2 separate regions of the Homo sapiens genome follow, and region 2 is linked to region 1. Evidence: promoter capture Hi-C in human tissues and cell types (Jung and others, 2019). All regions are on one chromosome and are shown on one strand. Each heading gives the region's core, a stretch centred on a gene start or on the middle of the fragment in contact. The rest is flanking DNA. Distances are from core to core; before and after follow the strand shown.

Region 1 (6,467 bases), core at 2,023-4,522:
AGCCTGTAATCCTAGCACTTCGGGAGGCCAAGGTGGGAGGATCACTTGAGTCCAGGAATTTGAGACCAGCCTGGGCAACATGGTGAAATCCTGTCTCTACAAAAAATTAGTCGAGTGTGTGGTGCACGCCTGTGGTCCCAGCTAGCCAGGAAGCTGGGGTGGGAGGATGGTTTGAGTCCAGAGGTGATATTTATGCTGAGAGGTGAAAGATGAAAAGGAGAAAAAGCCAAGAAAGCAAAATTCCAAATGGAACAAACAGCTTGGGTGAAGTCCCGGAGTTAGGAAAGAACTTAATACAACGAAGGAACTGAAAGAAAGCTGATGTTGCTGTAGCTCAGGGAACCAGGGGTGGAGTAGCAAGAAAAATGATGAGGGCCAGGCAGTGGCCGATGCCTGTAATCCCAGCATTTTCGAAGGCCGAGGCCGGCAGATTCCTTGCGCTCAGGAGTTTGAAACCAGCCTGGGCAACATGGCAAAAGTCTACACAGAAATACAGAAATTAGCCAGGCATGGTGGTGCGCGTGTGTAGTCTCAATTACTCAGGAGGCTGAGGTGTGATTCCACCACTGTATTCTAGCCTAGGCAACAGAGCGAGAACTTGCCCCTCTTCTCCCACAAAAAAGATGGAATAGCTGGGCAAGGTGGCTCACCCCTGTAATCCCAGCACTTTTGGAGGCTGAGGTGAGCGGATCACTTGAGGTCAGGAGTTTGAGACCAGCCTAGCCAACATGGTGAAACCTTGTCTTTACTAAAAATACAAAAATTAGCCGGGTGTGGTGGCATGTGCCTGTAGTCCCAGCTACTCTACTAGGGAGGCTGAGGCAAGAGAATCGCTTGAATCTGGGAGGCGGAGGTTGCAGTGATCTAAGATTGCACCTCTGCACTCCAGCCTGGGTGACAGAGCAAGACTCTGTCGCAAAAAAAAAAAAATAAAATAAAATAAAAAGAAGGAATAGCAAGTGAAGGGCCATATTGATCATGACTTTATGGAAGTTGAAGTTTGTGTTTAGTTTTAAGTACAATTGGAAGACACTGATGAGTTTTTAAAAGGAAGTGACATGATAGAATTTCTATTTTAGAAAACTAATTCTGGCAGCTGTGTGGAAAATGAATTGAAAATGGACATACCGCTCTTCTGAAACTTCCTTAAAAAGCTATCGCATAGCCGGGCGCGGTGGCTCACGCCTGTAATCCTAGCACTTTCAGAGGCCAAGGCGGGTGGATCATGAGGTCAGGAGATCAAGACCATCCTGGCTAACACGGTGAAACCCCGTCTCTACTAAAAAATACAAAAAATTAGCCGGGCGTGGTGGCGGGCGCCTGTAGTCCCAGCTACTTGGCAGGCTGAGGCAGGAGAATCACTTGAACCCGGGAGGTGGAGCTTGCAGTGAGCCGAGATCGTGCCACTGCACTCCGGCCTGGGCGACAGAGTGAGACTCTGTCTCAAAAAATAAATAAATAAATAAATAATAAATAATAAAAAAGCTATTGTATAAACTGACCTGCACTGTTTGAAGTCAGAATAGTGATTGTTGGGGGCAGAGTTACTAGAGGGCAGCATGAGGGGAGATTCTGAAGGTGCAGGAAATGTTCTGCTTATTTTCTGGGAGCTGACTATATGAGTATGTTTGGTTTGTTAGTATTCAAGCTTTACACTTGGGATATGTACATTTTTCCTTATGTATATTGTACTTCAATACAAATTTTTAGACTGGGCACGGTGGCTCACCCCTGTAATCCCAGCATTTTGGGAGACTGAGGAGGGCAGATCACTTGAGGCCAGAGTTTGAGATCAGGCTGGCCATCATGGTGAAACTCTGTCTCTACTAAAAATACAAAAATTGGCCTGGTGTGTTGGCGCATGCCTGTAATCCCAGCTACTTGGGAAGCTGAGCCACAATAATCAATTGAACCAGGAGGTGGATGTTGCAGTAAGCTGAGATCGACCCACTGCACTCTAGCCTGGGCAACAGAGGGACACTCACTCTCTCTCAAAAAAAAAAAAAAAAAAAAAAAAAAAAAATATATATATATATATATATATATATATATATATATATATTATATGGTAATAGTTGAATTTAGATGATCCTGCATTAGGAAATAAAATGAAACATATAACGGTTATTACTGGAATAACTGACAAAATTTAAAGATGGAATTTGTATACTAGTATTGAATCACGATTAAATTTCCTTAATTTCATAATCGGGCTGTGCTTACATAAGAGGTAGTCCTTGATCTTAGTAGATACATACCTAAGTATTTAGGGAGATGTGTGATTGGTTTTCAAATGGTTTTGCAAAATAATATGTAAATACATAGGTAAAGATAAACTTGGCAAAATAGTAACACTAAGTGAATCTAGGTGAAGAGTATATGCGCATTCATTATATTATTCTTGCAACATTTGTTTTAAATTTTTAATAGTTTAAAAATAGGCCGGGAGCAGTGGCTCAGGCCTGTAATCCCAGCATTTCGGGAGGCCAAGGTGGGCGGGTCACTGGCAGTCAGGAGTTTGAGACCAGCCTAGGCAACATGAGGAAACCCCATCTCTAGTGAAAATACAAAAATTAGACGGGTGTGATGGTACCTGCCTGTAATCCCAGCTCCTCAGGAGGCTGAGGCACGAGAATCGCTTGAGCCTGGGAGAGGGAGGATGCAGGGAGCTGAGATCGTGCCACTGCACTCCAGCCTGGGCGACAGAGCAAGACTACTCCAAAAATAAATAAATAAATAAATAAATAAATAAATAAATAAATAAATAAAAATAACTAAATTACTTGAAATTGTAATAAGCTAAGTAATAAGTAAAAACTGGAGAAAAGTCATAACAATAATTCGGGAACAAGATGATGTGACGGGCTAAACCTGGCAGTGAAGACACAGAAAAATGAATAAATTCAAGGTATGTTTTGGAGGTAGAACTGACAAGATTTGTTAACTGATAAGGTGTAGCAAATAAAGAAAAAGGGAGGAATAACTGCTGTAAACAAACCTGACCAAAAGGAACAAACTAGCTCCGCCCTTCCCGATTGCAGCCACGCGAAGGAAGTGAGGAAAAGAAAGCAAAGGCCTAGCTACGGGCAGGCTTCCGTTCTAGCGTCGCGAAGAGGCCGTAAAGCACAGAAACCCGTTTGTCCCCTCCCCTAATGGGCGGGCCTTGAGACTGCCCGGCCAATGGCAAGCGAGTAATCGACTGATAATCCAATAGCTCTGGAGTGGGTGGAGTCCTGAGGAATTGGGGTGGGCTGGACTTGGGCCTGGAGTTAGGCATTTCCGCCCACGTGGGAAGCTATGAGGTATAGACCCGGCTAGAATCTGAAGTGCGGGAGAGTGCTGGACCCTGAGTGATGGGGCCGGCGCCAGCTGGAGAGCAGCTTCGCGGAGCGACTGGAGAGCCAGAGGTGGGTTGAGCCATCGGGGAGGAACAGAGGCTCAATGTGCGCTCCCTTGGCTGCAGGGCCCGAGATGGCGTGATCTGACAGCTTGCGGGTGAAAGCCATGCCGGCGGCCCATTCTGGAGGATGTTTCCAGCCAGTGGCACTGAGACAGGGCTTGCTAGGGGTGATGGAACCTGGCAGTATTTGGTTAGAAGCAGTGAAGCCGGTAGAGCCTCTGCTCTCTTCTGGAGCTCTGCACCTCAAAGTTGAAGAGACCCACACTTGGGTCGTTTCTTTTATTTGGTGGTCCTTGACGATAAGCGGGATCTTCCTCCACAGAATTTGTGTCCAGTTCTGTGCTCCCCGCTGTAGCGGAGGGCATACGGTGCCTCTCCTGGAGCGCTCCAGTAAGGCTCTCTGGGATGAGAGGCATCGTGGAGCGGATGGGCCCACGGCTGTAGGGGAAAAGGTTTGGGATCCTGCACGCTTGCCTTTGAAGCCTGCTCATAGTACGGGTGTACCAGTTGTGGAACCTCGAGTGAATAGTGGGACTTCAAGTGTCTTCAAGAATTATTTTGAGGATTTAATGACTTGCTAAATGTGTCCTCTGGGGTCCAGTCGGTTCTAGCTCCTTCCATCAGTGAGTATTTAGTGTAAACTGAGGCAGTCAGGTCTTCCTAGAGGAGGTGGAACCTGGCAGGATTTGGTTGGAGCGAGAATGGGAAAGACATTTGAGAAGTCCCAGGCCTATATCAGCAGAAGAGGAAACTTCCTGAAAATACAAGGGGCCTGGGCATTACTTAGGGCAGGGCTCAGTCAGCTTCTTTTTTTTTTTTTTTTTTTTGACAGTCTTGCTCTGTTGCCCAGGCTAGAATGCAATGGCACGATCTCGGCTCACTTCAGCCTCTGCCTCCTGGGTTCAAGTGATTTTCCTGCCTCAGTCTCCCGCGTAGCTGAGATTACAGGCATGTGCCACCACACCTGGCTAATTTTTGTATTTTTAATAGAGACGGAGTTTCCCCATGTTGGCCAGGCTGATTTCGAACTCCTGACTTCAGCTGATCCGCCCAGCTCCACCTCCCAAACTGCTGGGATTACAGGCGTCAGCCACCGTGTCCAGCCTGGGCCCAGTCAGCTTCTATCACTACCAATTCCAAACAGAGCTCCATGCTTGTGGTGTCAGGTAGACAGGAGAGCTCTTAACTCAAGGAATTTTCGGCTCAGCGCTCAGTGATGTTCATCCAAGTAACGATTCTCCTGAGTTTTACAAAATCTGACTCCTACTCAAAAGAGGGACAGAGCAGGTGAAGCTTTTACCCACAACCTATCATGGTGGCACTTTAGGCAGCAGATGCTAGATACCTATTACCTCAAAATGGCTTCTCCCTCACTGGCCACAGGTGATGGAACCAGCCCTGGAAGGCACAGGCAAAGAGGGGAAGAAAGCATCCTCCAGGAAGCGTACATTGGCTGAACCTCCAGCGAAGGGCCTCCTGCAGCCAGTGAAGCTCAGCAGGGCAGAACTGTACAAGGAGCCTACCAATGAGGAGCTTAATCGCCTTCGGGAGACTGAGATCTTGTTCCACTCCAGCTTGCTTCGTTTACAGGTACTGTTGAGTGTCTGCAGCTTTTGTTCGAGGTGTGTACCTGGGACCCTGAGGCTGATGGACTGTCTTCTACCCTCTCTTACAGGTAGAGGAGCTACTAAAGGAAGTAAGGCTGTCAGAGAAGAAGAAGGATCGGATTGATGCCTTCCTACGGGAGGTCAACCAGCGGGTTGTGAGGGTGCCCTCAGTCCCTGAGACAGAGGTAAGCAAGTGGCCTGGGGAACTGGGAAGCCCAAGAGAGACCTCCAGTGGGGGTATATCAAACAGGGGCCTTGCTGTTACTCTGTTTAAGGGTTGGGGTGCAGGGAGCTCATTCTCACAGCAAGGAAGCTTAGCTGGGAGCGTGGTCATTTGTGTATTCATTCAGCAAGTACTTCCATGCCTTGCAGTATTTGTGTTCTTAGGATATATCAGTAAATAATAGCCTATGCTGTAATGCTGAGGTTATAGTTAATAGATAAGCATAACAGGTAAACTCTATGGCAATGTTAGAATGTGGTAAACACTGGAAAAAGGAAAAAGTAGGACGAGCAATGTAAGGGGATTGGGAGTATTAGAGGATGGGAGTGGTTTACAAGTTTAAAGGGGGTGTTCACAAAGTAGGCCTTATTGAAGTGACATTTGTGTAAAGACTTGAAGTAGGTGAGTCAGCTATATAGATATCTAAGGGAATAAAAGCATTCCAGGAAGGGGGAACAGCCAGTACAAAGGCACAAAGGCAGGAATGTTCCAGTTACATTCCTTGGAATGAATGAGGAATACAGAAGGAGATGAGTTCAGAAAGGTGATGGGGAAAAGTAGCATATCATGCAGGGCATTGTGTCCCGAAGTAGGGACTTTGGCTGTTGCTCTGGGTGAGATGGGGAGCCACTGCTGGATTTTATTTTGCAGAACAGTGATGCCCTCTAACTTTTAAAAGTTCACGTTTTTGTTTTTGTTTTTGAGACGAAGTCTCGCTCTTGTCCTCCACACTGGAGTGCAATGGCGCGATCTCAGTTCACTGCAGCCTCCACCTCTCGGGTTCAAGCTATTCTCCTGCCTCAGCCTCCCGAGTAGCTGGGATTATCACACCCGGCTAATTTTTTTGGTATTTTTAGTAGAGAGGGGGTTTCACCATGTTGGCCAGGTTAGTTTTGAACTCCTGACCTCAGGTAATTTGCTCTCCTTGGCCTTCCAAAGTGCTGGGATTACAGGTGTGAGCCACCGTGCCCAGCCTAAAACGTTCACTTTTCCAGCCTTAAAAAGTTTAGTTTTAGAAAAATTTACTCCGGCTGTTGTGTCAAAAGTAGAATCGAGAGGGACAATGATGAGATTAGAGAGACCAGTTAGGAACTAGTCTAGGCACTGAGAAATGGTGGCTCCTCAAACTAGGGAGGAAAGTAGTGAAGTGATCCATTTCTTTCTTTTTTTTTTTTTTTTTTAAATCTTTTCCTCTCTCTGTTTTAAAAAAGTTTTCTTTTTAGAGAAGTGATCCATT
Region 2 (6,467 bases), core at 479-2,978, 320 kb before region 1:
CCACCCTTCTGTGTAATCTAATCCAAGGGTAGCCATAGCATTAGCATCTCCTGGGAACTTGTTAGAAATGTAAATTCTTGGTCCTTACCCCCACCCGCTGATCAGAACCTTGGGGATGGGACCCAGTGATTTGTGCTTTAATAAGCCTGCAGGTGGTTTTGACGCATACTCAGGTTTGAGAGTTCTTCGTGTAGGCAGCGGTTCTCAGCTCTGTCTATACACTCTACAGTTACCAGAGGTAGAGTGTTAAATACTCACTGGTATTCACACTGTCTTCCTGAGAAGTTTGAGTTAATTGCCCTGGGGTAGGACACAGGCATCAGTATTTTCAAAAACTCTGTCTTAGGTCGCTTTAATGTGTAGCTAACCAGCAAAAGGTACTTGCCTGCTTTTGTCACTAGCTCTGACAACTCCAAGATTATCCCTGCCTGCTTTTATGACCACAACCCTTGCTGTTTCATGGATTGGCCTTGCTCTGGAGAGTCAGCTGCTGTCAACAAGTTTTCTTTTCCACCACCTCTCCCATCCGTCTTACCCAACCTCAGTACTTCCCTGGGCTGAAGCCAAGCTCTCCCAGGCAGCCTGGCTGGGAGCTTTGCAGTCAGGGGCCCCACACTTACGTCTTGTAGCAGTGAGCTGCTGATACCACCCACTGTTCGCTGATGAGGGAGCCACCGCAGAAGTGGGAGCCAGAATTCAGGGACACCTGGTAGGGGAGAGAATTCTCCTCACAGGTGTAGCCCCCAACAATCTTGTCATCATCGTCAAAGGGGACAGCAACTGGAGTGGAAATAGGAAGGGAGAAGGCAAGTCAGTAGCATGTTAGGGGTGGTGCTCCCAGCCTGCGGTTGCTTCCTGCCAATTAGAAATCCTTAACAAGCCCAGTGAGGCCAGGCAAGGGAGGGAGCGCTGCCACCCCTGGTGAGCATCACTGGATGTGGCTCCCAAGTCTCTGTGTCTGCAGGGCACGTAGCTAGGTACCCTGCAGGGGCTCAGATCTCTCCTGGGGACACCAGGCTGAGGATGCAAGGAATGTCCTCAAAATGCTTCCAGTGGGGTAGCAGTTGGTATGTTGTTGTCTCACCCACTGAGTGCTTCTCTCTTTTATTCATCACCTGTGTACTTGCCCTGGCTATTTGAGCCCTGGATTGTCAGGATACTTTGGCTAAGCTAGGAAAACCCCCTGTCTGGGTAGACCTGGCCATGACTAGCTTCCCCCATAGCTCAGATCTGTGCAGTGAGGGCAGAGTTGAGGGCAGCCCCAGGCTCACTTTGGCATAACAAAGGTAGACTTTGTTATTGGCCAATAGAAGAGCAATTCTTAACTTTGGCGGCATGCCTGGAAACGTTAAAAATCACCTGGGAAGCTTAAAAGCCCAGTACACAGGCTGCACCCCAGACAAATGAAGTTAGAACTTCTAGAGTTGAATCTCTGGCATGAGTAATTTTTGAACCTCCCCAGGTGCATTCGAGGTTAAGAGCAGCTATAGTGGTGCTATACTGGTGCTCTTGGAGCCAAGCCTGAAGCCTGCCACTTCATTTCATGGGCCAGCCCCACCTGGTCTCCCTTCCCAGCTTCTCCAACCACAGCTCGGATATGGATGAATGACAGTGGTGGGAGTGAAATGAGGGAAAAGGTGAAACAGGTGAGGCTTAAAGAGAGCCCAAGGAGGATGGGAAGGAGATATGTCAGATGGAGGAAATAGAATATCAGAGCGCAGTCAAAAGAGGAGAGGTGGCAAGAATGGCAGGGCATGTGTCTGCCAGGAAAGGGGGTGGGTGGGGCCTGAGGCAGGTCATGAAACTCGCCAGCAGCTCCCACAAAGGCAAGGATCAGGAATGGATTCATGGTGGTAGAGTGTGCCTGACTGGTGGTGGAAGGCCTGTCCTTATACCCTTCCAAGAATCAGGAGAGGAGGTGTCTGTGAGGTGAGGGTCACAGTTCTTCCCAGCACAAACACACCTGCAGCTTTCCCCTTGCCAGGGTCTTGCATCAGCTCGGCTACGTTTGGCCACTCTGTGGGTTTGTGATTCACAGGTGATAAGGAAACTTGCCTTCTGAGAGCAGAGAGGGAGACTGGCTATTTCCTGGAAGGATGCTGGGATGGGGAAGACAGGGGAAACCAATCCCCGGATCACACAGCTGGGCTTTCGTAGGCCGAGGAGATGAGGGTTAGAAGGAGGGAGAATGGCCTGGGTGTCTAGGAGTCCTTTTAACTATTGGGGATGTATTTAATAATGTACTTAAGGAAGGGCAAGCATTGGTAACAAGCTTGGCTTTTCAGTTTCCTGGAGCCCCCACGAGAGGAGGAAAGTCTTATCTAAGGCTCATTTTTGTGAATATGAATATGCTTCTTTGCAGTCACTGTGCACAAAGGTCAAATCCAAGACTTTGGGTATCCAGAATTCCAACACTAAGGGGTAAGGAGAAGGGAGACTTAGCATTCCATAGGATTCTGGGCTTCCAGATGGCTCTCCTTCCTACCAAGGCTTAAAAGGATGGGAAGTGTTTCAAAGAAGGAGGGGACACAGGTTAGGTAGGAGCTTACTCAGTGCATCTGGAGGATGGAAAACCAATGGCGCACTCCTCCCCTTCTTCAATGTGAAGCCACTTGTCTCTCTCATGTGCATCCTGTCATAGGTTCTTTTTATGCAGCCTCACGGTTGTCCTGGCAACCTGCACTTAGGGTGATGCAAACTGACTCACCTGCTCAGGGCTGACAGCCTGAACCAGAATGACATGCCCCTGATCAGATGTCAGAGTTTGGACCATGGTAAATCTGGGTTACCATCTGATCTGAGAATCAGCAGTAGGTAGAGATTTTAGCACATGGTAAATGGGTCACATATTGGGATCAATAAGAAGATGTGGAGGGGTGGGTCTAGAATTTTCTATTTTAGATGCAGTGAGATTATGCTGGGCTTAGTATCAAGTGAATCTTCCCAGAGAATATCCTGATTTGGGCCCTACCAAGGCTACTAAGACACAGTTGTGTAATTGACTGAGGCACAACCTGGCCAGAGTAGTGTGGAGATGGAGATGCTGTCTGTGATCAAGTCTAATGATGTAAGGAAAGGAGGAGCTTCCTTATGAGGGTGCTTTCCCTTCTCAGCAACTCTGAGCTCAGGTTGGTGATGGGCAGGAGTGAGCAGAGTTCAAGTTTAAATTCTTTGAAAAGTAAAAGAAGCAGAGATGTTCTGGAGATGGTGAACAAAATGAGAAAAGCTCAGAAACTTCGTGTTGAGATCGGACATGGCCAGGGGGCTAGAGGGAGGAAGCAAATGGAAACCAGAGGGAATTGGAAAAAATGCGAATGTGGGGCCCGTGGAGTTGAGAGGACACACAGAGTACCTTCAGGTTCAGCTCCTGGCATGGCCAACGAGCCAGCTTCCCCAAAGCCAGGAGATCCACTGCTCAGAGACCCGCTCTCCACCCCACATCCCCTCTAATCACTGATGGGCTCATACCTAACACTGCTGTACTTAGATGGTGCATGGTGCCTGACAGCTTTACAAGAGTTTTCACATAAGCAACAGTGGTACATTGCTTTTCAGTTATGCTGAGTTTCACAGTTTGACTTCCCACAAACATGCTAATTGTGATTTGTGCAGAGCAAAATTATTTCCATTTATAGAGGAAGAGACTGAGATTCAGAAGGATTCTGTCTTGCCCAAGAATACAGATCTTGGCAGAGCTCACCATAAGGCCAACGGAAGCCATGGAGATCATTGTGAACTGTGGGAATTGCTGCAGGTGACATCTAAAAGGAGATTTATTGAGGATCAAGGCAGAGGTCCCCAGAGGACAAACTGTGCATCTGATTCCTTCCTCCTGCTTTTCTTCCTGGCAGAAATAGATGATTGAATTCATCTTTCTCCTGGCACCTTGTCTCAGAGACTTCCCTTGCCACAGTTCCAGACCCATCCAGGCCATGACTGCCATGTAGATGACACACCTCTCTGCTCACAAATGACTGGCCAAGCCTGAGGTATCCAGGTTTTGGAGCATTGATAATATGGGTTTTTCCTGTGTTGCCCCTAAACATGTTGTTTCATTTTGTCCCCTTGTCATGGGGTCTTCACACAACTCCTGCCTTAGAGGATAAGGAAAGGCTCTTGCTGTAGCAACTGTAGACACCAGTGTGCACTAAATAGGGAGGTGAACCTTGGCAGAAGATGGAAACTTTTTTTGGAGAACGGGATTTTTGGATCAGTGCTTGTGGCTCTGACTCTGTCTGAAAGGAACACCCAAGAATATGAGGATTTTCTGTATCTAGAGCTTGAAGATTAGCCTTCTCCAGTATTTTGCGCTCTTCCTTAAATGATCACAGTATAGTCTGAGGTCAGCTTTCTTCAAAAAGGAATGACCTTACAGGCAGAGAAGATAGCTATAGGTGGAGACTGTTACCTCATACTGTAGACTCAGATGTGTAGGATAGGTTCAGATCCAGCTGCCCAAGCTCAATTTGGAGGACATGCCATTCTTGGTACTCTTCATCCTGAACTAGAGATTTCTTTGTCTTCTTCTCTAAGACATCTTTCTGGCTTGTACTGAGTGCTTAGCACATCAAACCACTGTCCTTCAATTTTGATAACAGTGAATCAATTCTGTGTGCTTACTATATACCATGTTACTATACAGCATGTAACTCATATAAGTTAAGAATTTTTTCTTCATTTTACATTACAACCACTTATGCGATTGCCCATTTTCCAGGTGATTAAATGAGCTTTCTGGAGGTAAAGTGACTTGCTCAAGGCCACACAGCCAGTAGGTTTTAAAGATGGGATGTAAGTATGGTGGTCTGACTCTAGGGCCTCCATGCTCTGCCATAGGGCATTCTGCTTTGCCTCCTCTGAGCTGATCCTTGGTGCACCCTCACTGAGGTGGTAGGCAGCAGATATTGTTCTCTCCTTTTTACAAATCAACAATCTAAAACTCAGAGTTCAAATGACTTCTCCAGCAAAGATCATACTAGAACCTTCCCTATTCAGACAAAGTTTGTTCCTCTTCACGTTGCTACATGAGTCTTTCAGACCTCATAGTAGTCTGAAAAGTGTCAGATTCCAAATTCTTTTTTTTTTAACACTTTCTTCTCCAAATCCCACCAGATCTTTCTCCTAAGCTCTTAGTCAACTCCTCCTTGGGTTCCAGCATCCTTTATCATTCTGCAAACAGATTGTCAGATTTTAGGCTGTCTTCCCGCCAAACTCCCAGCTCCTCTCCTCATCCATTATTTTTCTTTTTTTCTAAGCTTCTTATCTCCCCCACGGCACAATTTCGCTTTATCCAATAAGGAATTGTTTTTGTTACTATCTCATCCCAGGAATCACTGAATCTGGAGAGTGAAGGGAGTGCTCTGTATGATCCAGAAAAGTCTGACTTGTAATATGGAGTCGCAGAGCATGAACTGGTCAAGGCTGATCAGCTAAATGGAGTAGCCCATTCCTCCCTGCCTGCCTCCTGCCCCTCCTCTTGCCTGCCCCTTGCCCCTCCTTCTGCCTGCCCAGCTGCTCCCCACCTTGAAGCCATGGAAGACATGCAAGTTTTATGCCCGGAGGGAAGTTTATAGTTCTGTTTATTCTTCAGGCTTCCATGTATGGGTAAATGGGGAAGCCTCTAGCACTTGAGACTAAACCTAAATTATTTTAAGGATAGATTGATTGCTGTAATATAATGGTGAGTCTTTCTGTTCACATTTCAGCCACTCCTTGACCACTCTCTTGTTTGGCCTATTAGAGCTGCTTAAGTGAGTCCAGGCTCCCTTAGACAGGAAGCAGAAGAAAGCCAGGACAGAGTGCAGGAGAAACACCCATATAGATTCTTATGATTGTAACATCTAGGATCTGTTTCATGATACTCAGAGTTTAATATATGGTGTATGTATTTATTTTTCTAAATTATACTAGCTCTAAATTGAGGCTCACAAGCTGGGTTTGGTGATAAATCCAGTCAACTGGGTTCCTTCTACTCATTTAGCTTATAAAAGTCTAGACTGTGTCATCCATTTGGAAGGCAGCCAACGGGTCAGTCATTTCCTCAAGATCGTCTTGGCCAGGAGGGCCTTCAAAAGGCTCCCAAGGCTCAGAACTGAGTGCTCCATCCACACAGGCACCAGCACAATTCCAATTGAGAACCTTCCACCCCAGAGCCACTGTGTTTGAGCAGGTTCTGCACTTTGCTTCTCTGTAGAACCCATATCATCTGTTCCATTTCCCAGTCTTGGGTAAGGCAGCAGAAGGGGATTGGCACATGACATGTGTACCTTTCTATTCAAATACAAAGCTTGTTATCTGTAGTCTTCCTACAGTTCTGTAAAACACTGGAAGTTATTCCTCCTATCTAGCTGTAATTTTGTGTCCTTTAATCTTTTCCTATCCTCCCCGCAACTAAAACATAAATTTGAAACAAGAATAAAAAATATAAAGTTTGAAGTGCTTATTCCTTTCCTGTTAGAATAATCTAG

Evidence for each region. The method cuts DNA at HindIII sites, captures the fragments that hold promoters and counts their contacts. A contact is called where the count stands out against the background at its distance.
Region 2: a fragment that was not itself captured here is called in contact with the fragment with the promoter of NOL6 in region 1 in 1 of the 25 tissues and cell types used here (mesendoderm cells).

Annotation. Positions count from the first base shown.
Region 1 is chr9:33,470,729-33,477,195 of GRCh38, reverse strand. NOL6 (nucleolar protein 6) reads left to right here and starts at 3,272. Exons shown (of 26, transcript NM_022917.5): 1 at 3,272-3,407; 2 at 4,784-4,990; 3 at 5,076-5,192. The coding sequence starts at 3,354. LOC107987061 (a long non-coding RNA gene) reads right to left here and starts at 3,056. Exons shown (of 3, transcript XR_001746648.3): 1 at 2,999-3,056. RefSeq lists an enhancer at 3,321-3,660. The HindIII fragment of the contact is 8,318 bases long and covers 1-5,007 here.
Region 2 is chr9:33,790,956-33,797,422 of GRCh38, reverse strand. It overlaps PRSS3 (serine protease 3), which reads right to left and starts at 1,862. Exons shown (of 5, transcript NM_002771.4): 1 at 1,810-1,862; 2 at 621-780. The coding sequence starts at 1,849. The region is part of intron 3 of UBE2R2-AS1 (UBE2R2 antisense RNA 1); the gene reads left to right. RefSeq lists an enhancer at 813-1,313. The HindIII fragment of the contact is 4,072 bases long and covers 1-3,764 here.